Linked DNA regions of Homo sapiens: region 2 is linked to region 1. Evidence: promoter capture Hi-C in 16 types of primary human blood cells and fetal thymus (Javierre and others, 2016). All regions are on one chromosome and are shown on one strand. The core of a region is centred on a gene start or on the middle of the fragment in contact, and the rest is flanking DNA. Distances in the headings are between cores, read along the strand shown. Region 1 holds the start of NRSN2 (neurensin 2). Region 2 overlaps CSNK2A1 (casein kinase 2 alpha 1).

Region 1 (6,008 bases), core at 3,509-6,008:
TGGTGTACAGACGACCATCCTATTGTAGCCCCAAATGGCACAGAGAAGAAGCAAGCTCTCAAGTCTCCTCTTATCAGGCTGTAATCCCTCCCAAAGGCCCACTTCCAAATAACATCACCTTAGGACTTCAACATATGAATATGAGGGAGATACAAACATTCAGTCTGCAGCAGAGGGCTTCGTTAGAGCTCTGACCTGAGCACGCTTCATCTCAATGTCATTGTTTTTGCCAGCTCTACATCCACTGCCCTTTTTTTTTTTTTTTTTTTTTTTTTTTTTTTTTGAGACAGAGTCTCACTCTTATCACCCAGGCTACGGTGCAGTGGCACGATCTTGGCTCACTGCAACCTCCGCCTCCCAGCTTCAAGTGATTCTCCTGCCTCAGCCTCCGGAGTAGCTGGGACTACAGGTGCATGCCACCACACCCGGCTGATTTTTGTATTTTTAGTAGAGACAGGGTTTCACCATGTTGGTCAGGCTGGTCTCAAACTCCTGACCTTGTGATCCACCTGCCTCAGCCTCCCAAAGTGCTGGGATTACAGGCATGAGCCACTGGGCCTGGCCCCACTGCCCTTTCTTACAGTAACAGTATTTCAATTTCCCTTTAGGGAAGCTCTTCAAGCAGGTTCTCAGTCCAAGAGGTTTCTCTGGGTTAAGCACTGCCAGCCACCCAAAGGGTGAGCAAGTAACCAGCCAATCAGAGACACTCCAGTGGGTTCAGTAAATGACATATTATCTAACTGGGGTGAGGGGAATCAACATCAGGGCTTTTCCTGAGACTATAAGGAGAAACAGATTCTTTTCCCAGCAGTTAAATTTGAAGTCTGTGGCCATTTTGCTACCATATAGGGAAAATCTGCCTGACATTGAAGCCAACACAGATGAGGGAAGAGCCAAGAGATAAAGAGAAAGATCCTGAGCATCTGGATACAGCCATGCCTGAAGCCAGTATCCCTTGACTTCTCAATTATGTGAGCCTTTATATTCCCTTTGTTTAAAGCCAGTTCAAGTTTAAAACTGCCATTTCCAGTGAGAACAATTCCCTATGTTGTATCTAAGGCCAAGACCTTGCCCCTGACTCTAGGCCAGAATGTCCTGTACAGTGCCATTCAACTCTGCCAAAAGCAAAGGGCATCAACTTCTCCACAACCTGGCTTTCCCTCATCTATTTTACATCTCTGTTAATGGGAGCATCACCCACCTGACCTATAAACATAAAAGTCAGCCTCTATCCTCTCTGTCTCTCTCCCTCTCTCTGTCTCTCTCTCTCTCTCTCAATCCCTGTCACTTCCCTTACTTCTTAGTAACCAAGTTCTGCCAACTTAACTTTATGGACATTTTTCACACCTGCACCCTCCTTTCCATTTTTCCTGCCCACTCCAATTCTTCATCATTTCTCACCTAAATTTTTACAAAATCAATAGATAACTAACATAGAGGTGTATAGTAAAAAGTGAATTTCGGCCGGGCACAGTGGCTCATGCCTGTAATCCCAGCACTTTGGGAGGCCGAGGCAGGCAGATCATGAGGTCAGGAGATAGAGACCATCCTGGCCAACATGGTGAAACCTCATCTGTACTAAAAATACAAAAAAAAATTAGCTGGGCATGGTGGCATGTGCTTGTAGTCCCAGCTACTGGGGAGGCTGAGGCAGGAGAATCGCTTGAACCCGGGAGGCGGAGGTTGCAGTGAGCTGAGATCGCACCACTGCCCTCCAGCCTGGTGACAGAGCGAGACTCCATCTCAAAAAAAAAAAAAAAAAGTGAATTTCATTCCCACCCTTGCCATCAGTTACCCTCCCCCAAGGCATCTACTGTTACCTCTTTCTTGTCTATTTTCCCAGAAGTTCTCTATATGTGCCATCTTTTTGAGAATTTCAAATGGAGGCATACTATCAAGACTTTTCAGAACACTGCATCCTTCTTCACTTGAAGTGTGATTAATATAAATAATTATAGACTAATTTCTTCTTTCTAATGGATGCATAGTATTCCACAAAGACATATAATGTACATAACTCGTCTTCCATTGATGGATATTTAAGTGGTGTCCCAGTTATCTGTTAGCACAGAACAAAACCCCCCAAACCTAGTGGTATAACACAATAACCACTTGAATATGCTTGTGGGTTCTGTGTGTCAGGAATTCAGGCAGGACACAGTGAGGCCAGCTTGTTTCTACTCTGCAATGTTTGAGTCTTCAGCTAGGAAGATTTGAAGATTTGAAGGCTGAAGCTGATTCAAATGGCTGGCCACTGGAATCATCTTGTTCTTCCCCTTCCCCTTCGCCTTCTACAGTGCAATGGCATGATGTCGGCTCACTGCAACCTCTGCCTCCCGGGTTCAAGCAATTCTCCTGCCTCATCCTCCCTAGTAGCTGGGATTACAGGTGCACGCCACCATGCCCGGCTATTTTTGTATTTTTAGTAGAGACGGGGTTTTGCCATGTGGCCAGGCTGGTCTCGAACTCCTGAACTCAGGGTATCCACCCGCCTTGGCCTCCCAAAGTGCTGGGATTACAGGTGTGAGCCACCGTGCCTGGCCTCATCTGGTTCTTCTTCACTCACTTCTTTTATGCTTGAACTGGGATGACTCAAAGCTAAGCTTAGCTGGGACTGTGGTGCCTTCATGTGTCCTCTCCTGATGGTCTTGGCATCCTGACAGCATGGCAGCCTCTAAGCAGACATGGAGCCCTAGGTAGGCATGGTGCCTCAGGCTCCAAGAGCTAGAGTTCTAGCAGAAGTTGCCTGTACTTTTATGTCTGGACCTTAGAAGTCAGAGTGTTACTTCCACCGTACTCCATTGGTTGAAGCAGTCATCAGCTCACCCAAGATTCAGAGAGGGTACAAGGATCCCACCTCTCTACAGAGGAGTGCTAAAGAATTTGTAGCTATATTTTAAAACCACCACAGGTTGTTTCCAATCTGTAGCTATTCCTGTAGTTCATTTTACAGGCTAACATCTCTTGAATGTCTTCATTTCTCTGCACCAGGCCAAGACACTGTCATCTCTGATCTCTTTGCTGATCTCTTGCTGTCACTCTTGTGCTCAACATGCTGTTCTCTTGACAGCAGCCAGAGGTCTTTTCAGAATGAAAATCAGATCACATCCCACCCCTCTTCATAACCCTTCCATGGCTCCCCACTACCCTTGGGCTGAAGCTCAAACTCCTTACCTTGGCTTATGAGGCCCCACAAGGTCTCACTTCTGCCTGCCTCTCCAATGCCATCTCCTGTCACCATTTGGGGCCTTTAGTTTTGAGCTGCAAGAGTTCCTCCCATCACACACACACACATACACACACACACACACACTTAAATGAGTAAGTAAATAGAACATACAAAACGCTTAAACACTTTGCACATAGTGAGCATAATAAGTTTGCTACTATTATTAGACTGTCTTCAGTAAATATTTACTGGGCTGCCTACTCAGTGCCAAGCACTATGGGAGGCTCACAGATACAACACGAACAAGAAATATGTGGCCTTGGCCAGACGCGGTGGCTCACGCTTACAATCCCAGCACTTTGGGAGGCCGAGGCAGGTGGATCACTTGAGCTCAGGAGTTCAAGACCAGCCTGGGCATCATGGCAAAACCCTGTCTCTATTAAAAATACAAAAAATTAGCTAGGCATGGTAGTGCGTGCCTGTAGTCCCAGCTCCTCAGGCGACTGAGGTGGGAGGATCACCTGAGCCTTGGGAGATCGAGGCTGCAGTGAGCCGTGATCATGCCACCGCACTCCAGCCTGGACAACAGAGTGAGACGCTGTCTCAAAAAAATAAAAATTAAAAAAAAAGAAAAAGAAAAACTAAAAAGGAAGATGTGGCCCTATCTTGCCGAGCTCATTCTTCTGTGTGTCCCCAGCCCCTAGCACAAGGAGAAACAGAATAGATGCTCAAGACACAAAGGCATGTCTGTGCAAGGGTGCTTGATGACGGTTGGAGGGGCACAATGACTTTCCCAAGATCACACAGCAAATGTGGGACAAAATCAAGGCTGACAGCTCATGACAGGGTGGGAGGCAGATGCAGCTGCCTGGCACAGGCTGGCTCTCCAGGGAGATGGGCAGTGGGCACGCATTGCCCAGGGCAGAACTGGGGCTAGGGGAGGAAACAACAAGGGAGGCTGTCATTAGCTCCTTCCAAAGTGGAGGTCACTTCTCTCCCAACCCCGAGTCCTCCACCCAAACTCCCTTCTCAAGGTACAAGGGCTGATCCCGTACCAGGGATGGGTAGGGACTCAAAGAGGAAAAGAGGATGAAAAGAGGATGGGGACTGAGTGAGATGTGAGGACTCCAGAGGGATTAGCGGCTCTCAAGGCAAGTGGGAGGGGACTTCCCGGTAGGAGCCCGGAGACAGATGGGAGCCTGTGAAGAGGGCGGGGGCCCGGCGAGGAGAAGCGGTTTCTACGCTGGGGTGGGGCTCCATGAGGGGGATGGAGACCTGGAAAAGGGACTGACGGTGCAGCGAGGAGAGGAAGGCTCGGTTAAGGGATGGGTCTTCCACGGGAGGGGTGGGGAACTGCGGGAGTGACGGCAGCTTCGGTGAGGAGTCTGAGGGGCTGCGTGAGGGGCTGGGGCCCAGGGAGTCCGAGGGGTCTCTGTGAGGGCGCTGGGGTGTCCGAGCGAGCAGGGAACTCTGGAAGGGGACAGGAGCCGGGGGAGCTGCAGGCGGCCGCCGTCTGCAGAGCCAGGCCCTGAGGCGGGCCGGCGCCCCCTCCCCCGCCCCGAACTGCGGCGCAGGCGCGAACCGGACCCGCCTTTGCTCGGCGGAGACAGCAGGCAGAGAGGTGAGCTTAGCCCTGCCCCACGCGCGGCCAGGCCCCAGCCCCAGCCCCTGGAGAACCCCCGCGCTCTGCCCGCATCCTCAGCCCGGGCCGTGTCCCGCCAGGGCCGGGACCTTTGCGCCTGAGCCTCGGCTTTGGGAGGTGGGGGTCCCAGGGAAGCAGCAGGGGCGGGAGACAGAAACAGCCCCATCGCCCCTCGACGCCTCAGGGTTGATAGGCTGGGTAGAGGCTTCAAAGGACACCCCCACCCCCGCCAACACTTCAAAAACCCATTCCTACCCCTCTCTGCCTCAGTTTCTCTCTAGGGAAAAGGACGCAGTTGGTGTGGAGCAGGGCATCGGTGGTCCTGTCAGGAAGAGTGGCGCGGGTGCCGGTGGGGAAGGGAGGCGGGAAATGGCCTGATTTCCCCGGCCGACACCCCCTACCCATCCCCCCCGGGAGGGCGCCCCTTCTCCCCCGCCCGGGCAGCGCTGGACGCTGTAGTGGGCGAGTCTGAGGGTCTGGGAAGGACACAACTGAATGAGGCTGTGCAGAGGCGACAGATTCCGTCCATCTTCGGGCCCTGGCTTCCGTCACTTCCGCCCGTGCCTGCCGCCCCTCGCCTCCTCCCTCCGCCGCAGTCTCCCCACGTCGGACAGCGCAGCCCCCTCCGCCTCCCGCTCCCCTCCCACCGAGCTCCTCCCGGCTCCCGGGCTGGGGACGCCTCCCTAGCGGTTCCCATGGCAACCCTCGTCCCGGGTGCCTGCGCCCCGCCCCCCGCCCGCCAGACCTACTCCGTGCAGCCCTGAAACGCCAGGCGGAGGGGCCAGGCCGAGCGGGAGGCAGCGTCAAGGTCACCTTCCCTCTCCAGTAGCAGCAGGACTGAGTGATTCCATCTATTTGGAGTCGCGGAAGCGGTGAATTGGAGGGGAGGAGCTGACCCAGGTCAACAGCCCCGAAGCCCCCTCCACACCTCCTCACCTGTGGCCTTGAACAGTGGTCTCCGCACGGAGGCTCCTACCGTCCCCCAGGCCCCATTTCTTCTCCCCACCCGGGCCTCCCCAGCGCCTCGCCGGGGCGGGTACCGCGCTGGCCGCACCCTCCGCACAGCCCGCCCCGCCCGCCTCCTCCGGCGAGCCCTCCTCTCCAGACCTCTCGCCCTCCTCCTCCGACGGTCCTTCGCTTTCAGTCTCTGCCTTTTCCCGTTCTCTGTCGTGGCTTTTGTTGTTGTTGTTTTTCCTC
Region 2 (6,008 bases), core at 3,509-6,008, 190 kb after region 1:
AACAGTGTGAGGTCTCCCAATGAAGGGAGGTATTAGAAGAAAATCCAAGCAGTTTGATTTGGATTAATAGTTCTACCCCAAACACCTAAGAGAAATCGGAATTCCAGTACTGTCTCTTACAATATAGTCATCATCTATACACCTTTTTACCACGCCATATAAGCAAAATAAAGTCACAATGTGAAACTTTACTCCACTGGCTATTACCCTCTGGAACCAAAAGATGGAAAACTTCATTTGGGATATACAGTAATCTAAAGAAAAATTCAGCACTTATGAATGTAATAACTACTGTTACCATTTGAATGCCTCTTACAAACCAGGCACAGTATCAGATGCATATTCTGATTTTAGAAATAAACAGATTCAGAGGTTAAATAATCTGCCAAAAACAACAGGATTACTAAGTGGTGGAAGCCAGATCTGTTTAGGATCCAAAGCCTAAATAGGTTCTTTTCACTAAATTTAATACTATTTCCTTAGTTCTCCAAACTGATTTATTAACAGCCTATCCAAAACACTATAATAAAATGAACTGCTTTAAATTTGGAGGCAAGGTAGGGGTGGGATACTGAGTTTCAATAATCAGGTTTCTTCATTATTCTTTTACCTGAATGGGCTGGCCACCAGGCCACAATTGTATAAAAATCAGATTTTAAATGATGGAAAAGCTTTTCTGTGTGGCTACTGAAGGGAGAAAGGAAGACAACTGAGACATGCCCCACCTTGCTGGCTGGGGGCTGGTGACATCTGTGGGCCTCAGTGTTGGACTCCAGATGCAACAAAGCCTAAAGTTTTGAATATGTATGAAGGTCAATGTGATGTTTTCCAAAAACAGTCATAAAAGATGGCTGTGAAAAACCCCCTAGTATAACAACTGTATGTAACAAGAGCATATAGGTAGCTGCAGATGAATGCTCAGGTCCTTAGCTGTGGTGTTTAAAAATTCTTCAGACCAGGCTGGGTGCAGTGGCTCACACCTGCAATCCCAGCACTTTGGGAGGCCGAGATGGGTGGATTGCCTGAGCTCAGGTGTTAGAGACCAGCCTGGGAAACACAGTGAAACCCCATCTCTACTAAAATACAAAAAAAAAAAAAAGCCAGGCGTGGCAGCGTGCGCCTGTAGTCCCAGCTACTTGGGAGGCTGAGGCAGGAGAATTGCTTGAACCCGGGAGGTGGAGGTTGCAGTGAGCCAAGGTCGTGCCACTGCACTCCAGCCTGGCAACAGAGTGAGATGCTATCTCCCAAAAAAAAAAAAAAAAAAAAAAAAAAAAAAAATTTCTTCGGACCAGTGTGGTGGCTCATGAGTGTAATCTCAGCACTTTGGGAGGCTGAGTTAAGAGGACTGCTTGAGCCCAGGAGTTTGAGACCAGCCTGGGCAACATGGTGAGACCTTGTCTCTACAAAAAAAATTAACAACTACCCACAAAGAAAACCCTAGCTCAAGATGGCTTCACTGGAAGGAAAAATGAACTGGTCAGGAAGACAGACAAATAGAAGCAAATAATGAAAGCATTTTATTTGACATTGATAACCTTCTCACAATAAATTATGTGGCAAAATACATGCTTGAATACTTAATTGCTAGGCAATAGTCTATTTTCATTTTTTCACAAAAGGTAGACAACTCCAAAGCAGATGGCCATTTGTAGCCATTCTATATAATCATAAATACACAAAACACTGGCCGGGCGCGGTGGCTCACGCCTGTAACCCCAGCACTTTGGGAGGCTGAGGCGGGTGGATCACCTGAGGTCAGGAGTTTGAGGCCAGCGTGGCCAACATGGCGACACCCCGCCTCTACTAAAAATACAAAAATTAGCCCGGTGGGGTGGCATGCACCTGTAATCCCAGTTACTTAGGAGGCTGAGAGAGGAGAATCACTTGAACCCAGGAGGCAGAGATTGCGCCACTGCACTCCAGCTTGGGCGACAGAGCAAGACTCCATCTCAAAAAAAAAAAAAAAAAAAGTTTTAAAGTGCCGATAAATACAAGTTCCTGGTCTGCCTACAGTTTATCACTTAATAATACAAAGCAAACAAGAAAGCAAGTTAGTGGATTACCTGAGAGAGCAAGACATAGAGAAGATGTTAATGCAGGGAGCTGGCCTTCTCCAAACATATCCCTAACACACAATATTCAAGCAATTCCCAAACTGTGATCAGAGAACCACTGGGAGTAAGACCTCTGATCTATATTTACAAGTCTATAGGTGAGCAAAGGTAGACCTTTTCCTGAGTCTGAGATGGGAATATTACCTTCTCTATCTAGAAGCAAAAGAATCCTAGACTCACCAGGACTAGGTAATAGACACTGTACACGAGTAATTGAGGTAATCTACACTGGGCGTGACTTACATACTGATCCACCCCTAGGCAGCAATTCATACCTCACCCACCCAACAGGCTACATTAGAAACAAGGAAGTACAGGTCAAAAGTCTCATTAAAAAAATAAGAACTCTTGGCAGCAGAAAATGAAAATAAAGAATGAAGAATGACAGCACTGGCAATAAACACATTCTTTTCTCCGAAAGGGAAGGGAAAGAACTAATGTTGGGCACCCACATGCCAGACATTTTATCAATTTTCTCCTTTAATCCTCAATAATCCTGAGATAATACTAGCTAGTACTCTAGTTATTAATCCTCACAAAAATCCTGAGGTAGGTACTACTAATTCCCATGTTACAGGTGAAGAAACCAAAAGTTAGTAAGTTGCCCAAGGTAGTTGTTATCCGAACTGTAGAGACAAGAACTCCCAGACTTGAAGAGGTTAAGTAAACTTCCCCAAACTCAAAGTGGGAGTTCTTTCCCACTAACCTATTGCCTTCCCCTCCCTACCCGCAATCTCAATTAATTCTCTATTCTACCCCCTTCTCATTTCTGCAGCTGTTTCAAAAACTACACCTAAGATACAAAGCAAATAGGAGTTATTATAAGAAAACACCTCCAAAATCTACTAAGTTGTGGTATGATATGCCTGTTATCAGAAAACGTCACTCAATTTTGAGCTTGGAGGGCAGTGACAGTTTGGAGATCTTTAGCACAACGCCTGCCAGAAACGTGGCAGGCGCTCAGGATCTGCTGAATGAACAACATCTTCTGAGTGGTTATGAATTCAATAACCCAAAATGACCATCTCGTATTTCTGGATATGACATGATACCATTTTTTGGAAAATAATTTACCCATTCATTTTAAACAGGGTAGCTTTCTTAAAATTTATAGAACATTGATGAGATAGCTAAACTGAGAAATGCCCATTAAAGCATTAGTCATAACTTCAGGAAAATTTCAAATGTTCACTTTTCCAAGCAAATTAAAATGTTTCAGCTAATAAAAACCTGTCAGAAAAACCCACAAGACAAGAAAGTATAAAAAGAAAAGAGCAGCCAATATAAGGGCATTTAAGATGTCACACATAAAAAATTATAAAACATTAATCTAACTTGTACCTTGGTATTTAACCCTAAAACTGTCACCTCAGATAACACAATATTTTCTATGCAAGAAAACATTATCACCACGAATGTAAAGAAGCTTGCCGACCATAGCAACTGTTGCTACGTAGGGTTTTTTAATGTCTAAGACTGAAAGACAGAATTTGTAGAAACCAGTTAAAATGCCACTCTTAGCAGTATCTTGTGATACTGTGAATGCTTTCACCTTAAACTTTTTAAAAGACTCAATCTTTGACTTCTACATGTGAAAAAAAAAAAGTACATCTGGGAGCACTCAACGTAAGAAAACTACCAATTGTCTATAACCCAATGAAAATACATCCTTTGTTACAATGACAGCAGCTACTTTTCCTTAATAATCCTAGAGGAATTTCTTCATTTGAAAAGCTGGCTGGCCTAGATTTCTCTATAAACTAAATGACATGCTACTTTCGAAATTATCCATTTCAGAAGTTCAAAGAAATTCAGGTATAAGAACACATTAATACTCTCATGAAACAAACCTTATCCAGGTTACCCACGAATTGTGACAGATCAAAACCCAGTTTCTCATTTCAAATCAAGTATCACATTATTTATTACCTTAAAATACTAAGCCCTTACCTAATTCAATGGCAAATCATATTGGTTTTCAGTTTCTGAACTTGTACAAATCATACTGTAATATTTATGCAAAAGTTGTCATATAGTTGAATATTATAGACAGTTAACATCTTTTTTTTTTTTTTTTGAGACGGAGTCTTGCTCTGTCCCCCAGGCTGGAGTGCAGTGGCGTGATCTTGACTCACTGCAACCAACCTCCGTCTCCCAGGTTCAAGTGATTCTCAGCCTCCTGAGTAGCTGGGACCACAGGCACGCACCTCCACACTCAGCTAATTTTAGTAGAGATGGGGTTTTACCATGTTGGCCAGGCTGGTCTTGTCCTGACCTCAAGTCATCTGCCCACCTCGGCCTCTCAAAGAACTGGGATTACAGGTGTGAGCCACCATGCCCGGCCAACAGTAGAAAAGGGTACTCAGGGAACATAGTTCAAAAGTCATGATTCTCTATTGGCTGGACCAGGATTCTAGACTAGCTCTAGGGCTGAGATATCTTAGTAGACCAGTTAACATTCATGTGGCCCAATTTCCCTTACTCTAAACCCAAAGTCAAACATAACCTCTAAAGTCTTTCATACCCTGAAATGCTAATCTTGTAATCATCTTTCTATTCAGGTAATAACTCAAAAGAAATGGTCTCACTTCCTTCATCCTCTGACTAAAGTTTAGTTAGTCCATATTTTATGAATCCAATTAATAGGATACTTTAAAGAACAAAAAGAAAAGACTTTTCTTAAAAGCTAGAAACTCCATTCTGTAGTGATGATTCCCAGATCTGACTCTTAAACTCAACAACCTCAACAGACAATGACAGGGAGAAAAGATCTTACAAGTTTGAGCTGAGCTGGGGTGGGGTGGGAGGTGTGAGAGAACAGAGAGACAGTTACAAATTCACAAAAATGTATCACCCATTTCCATCTCCTCTAAAAAAATATGAAATAAGCCTTAAAAGGCTGTCATAGAAACCCATTATTAAGCCAATAAAAACTAATGAAGAAATTATGTCATTTATCCAAGATATGGAAGAACCACCTATTTACAGAAATCCTACCAATGTCCTAGACCTTCAGAAACTACATCTCACTAAGCTGACCATCAAGCCCCTTCAAACTGCATCTAAGGACAATAATAATATTCAAACATCAAGAAACAGGCACAGGTTCCACTCAACACCATTATTCCGTGGAGTCTTCCAGGACTAAATTGTTTTATAGAATCTTTGCTATCTTTGTTCTCTAGAAAATGATATCCCAAAGACTCTAAAATAAAACCAGCAAAACCCCTGTATTTGTTTTCCATTGTGTCATAACAAATTATCACAAACAAAACAACACAAATGGATTATCTTACAGAAGTCAGTGGGCTTGACTGGGTCTCACAAGGGCTAAATGAGGGTATCCAGTGGGTGGGTTCCCTGCTGGAAACTCTGGGGAAAATTTGCTTCCACATTCATTCAAGCTATTGGCTGAATTTAGTTCCTTGCAGCTGTAGGACTGAGTTCCCACTTCCTTGCTGGTTGTCAGCTGGGACTGGCCTTTCCTACTAGAGGCTGCCTGCATTCCCCGTCTCACACTTTCAATCTGGTCCCCTCCAGTAACGGCAGGCTGAGTCCTTCTCATGCTTCAAATTTGACTTCCCCTTCTGCCTCATCTCTGACACCAGCCAGAAAAAGTTCTCTGCTTTTAAGTGCTTATGTGAGTAGAATAAACCCACCCAGAAAATCCAAGATAATCTACCTAAGATCCTTAACTTTAATTAAATCTACTTAACATATTCATGTTCCAGGGTTTATAGTATGGAAATCGTAGGGGAGCCATTCTGCTTACCGCAGTCTGCCTTCTGGTTTCCAAGGATTCATCTCTCTCTCAAATGCAAAATACATCCATCCCATCCCAAGGTCCCAAAGGTTTCCCATCTAAAGCTTATCATTTCAGAAGTCCCAAATCTC

Evidence for each region. Contacts are between HindIII fragments. The CHiCAGO score rates a contact against its expected background, and 5 or more counts as called.
Region 2: a fragment that was not itself captured here is called in contact with the fragment with the promoter of NRSN2 in region 1 in 7 of 17 cell types (activated CD4 T cells, naive B cells, total B cells and 4 more); the score reaches 8.6 in activated CD4 T cells.

Annotation. Positions count from the first base shown.
Region 1 is chr20:342,353-348,360 of GRCh38, forward strand. It overlaps NRSN2 (neurensin 2), which reads left to right and starts at 4,759. Exons shown (of 5, transcript NM_001323682.2): 1 at 4,759-4,790; 2 at 5,082-5,160. It overlaps LOC101929937 (serine/arginine repetitive matrix protein 2-like), which reads right to left. Exons shown (of 4, transcript XM_047440635.1): 2 at 5,748-6,008; 3 at 5,067-5,662; 4 at 3,914-4,639. The coding sequence ends at 4,316. RefSeq lists enhancers at 3,531-4,294, 4,295-5,057, 5,058-5,820 and silencers at 4,627-5,046, 5,067-5,596, 5,777-5,866. The HindIII fragment of the contact is 16,038 bases long and covers 2,602-6,008 here.
Region 2 is chr20:533,789-539,796 of GRCh38, forward strand. The region is part of intron 1 of CSNK2A1 (casein kinase 2 alpha 1); the gene reads right to left. Among named protein-coding and RNA genes, the nearest start is that of CSNK2A1, 7.0 kb to the right of the region's middle. RefSeq lists an enhancer at 894-943. The HindIII fragment of the contact is 2,441 bases long and covers 3,539-5,979 here.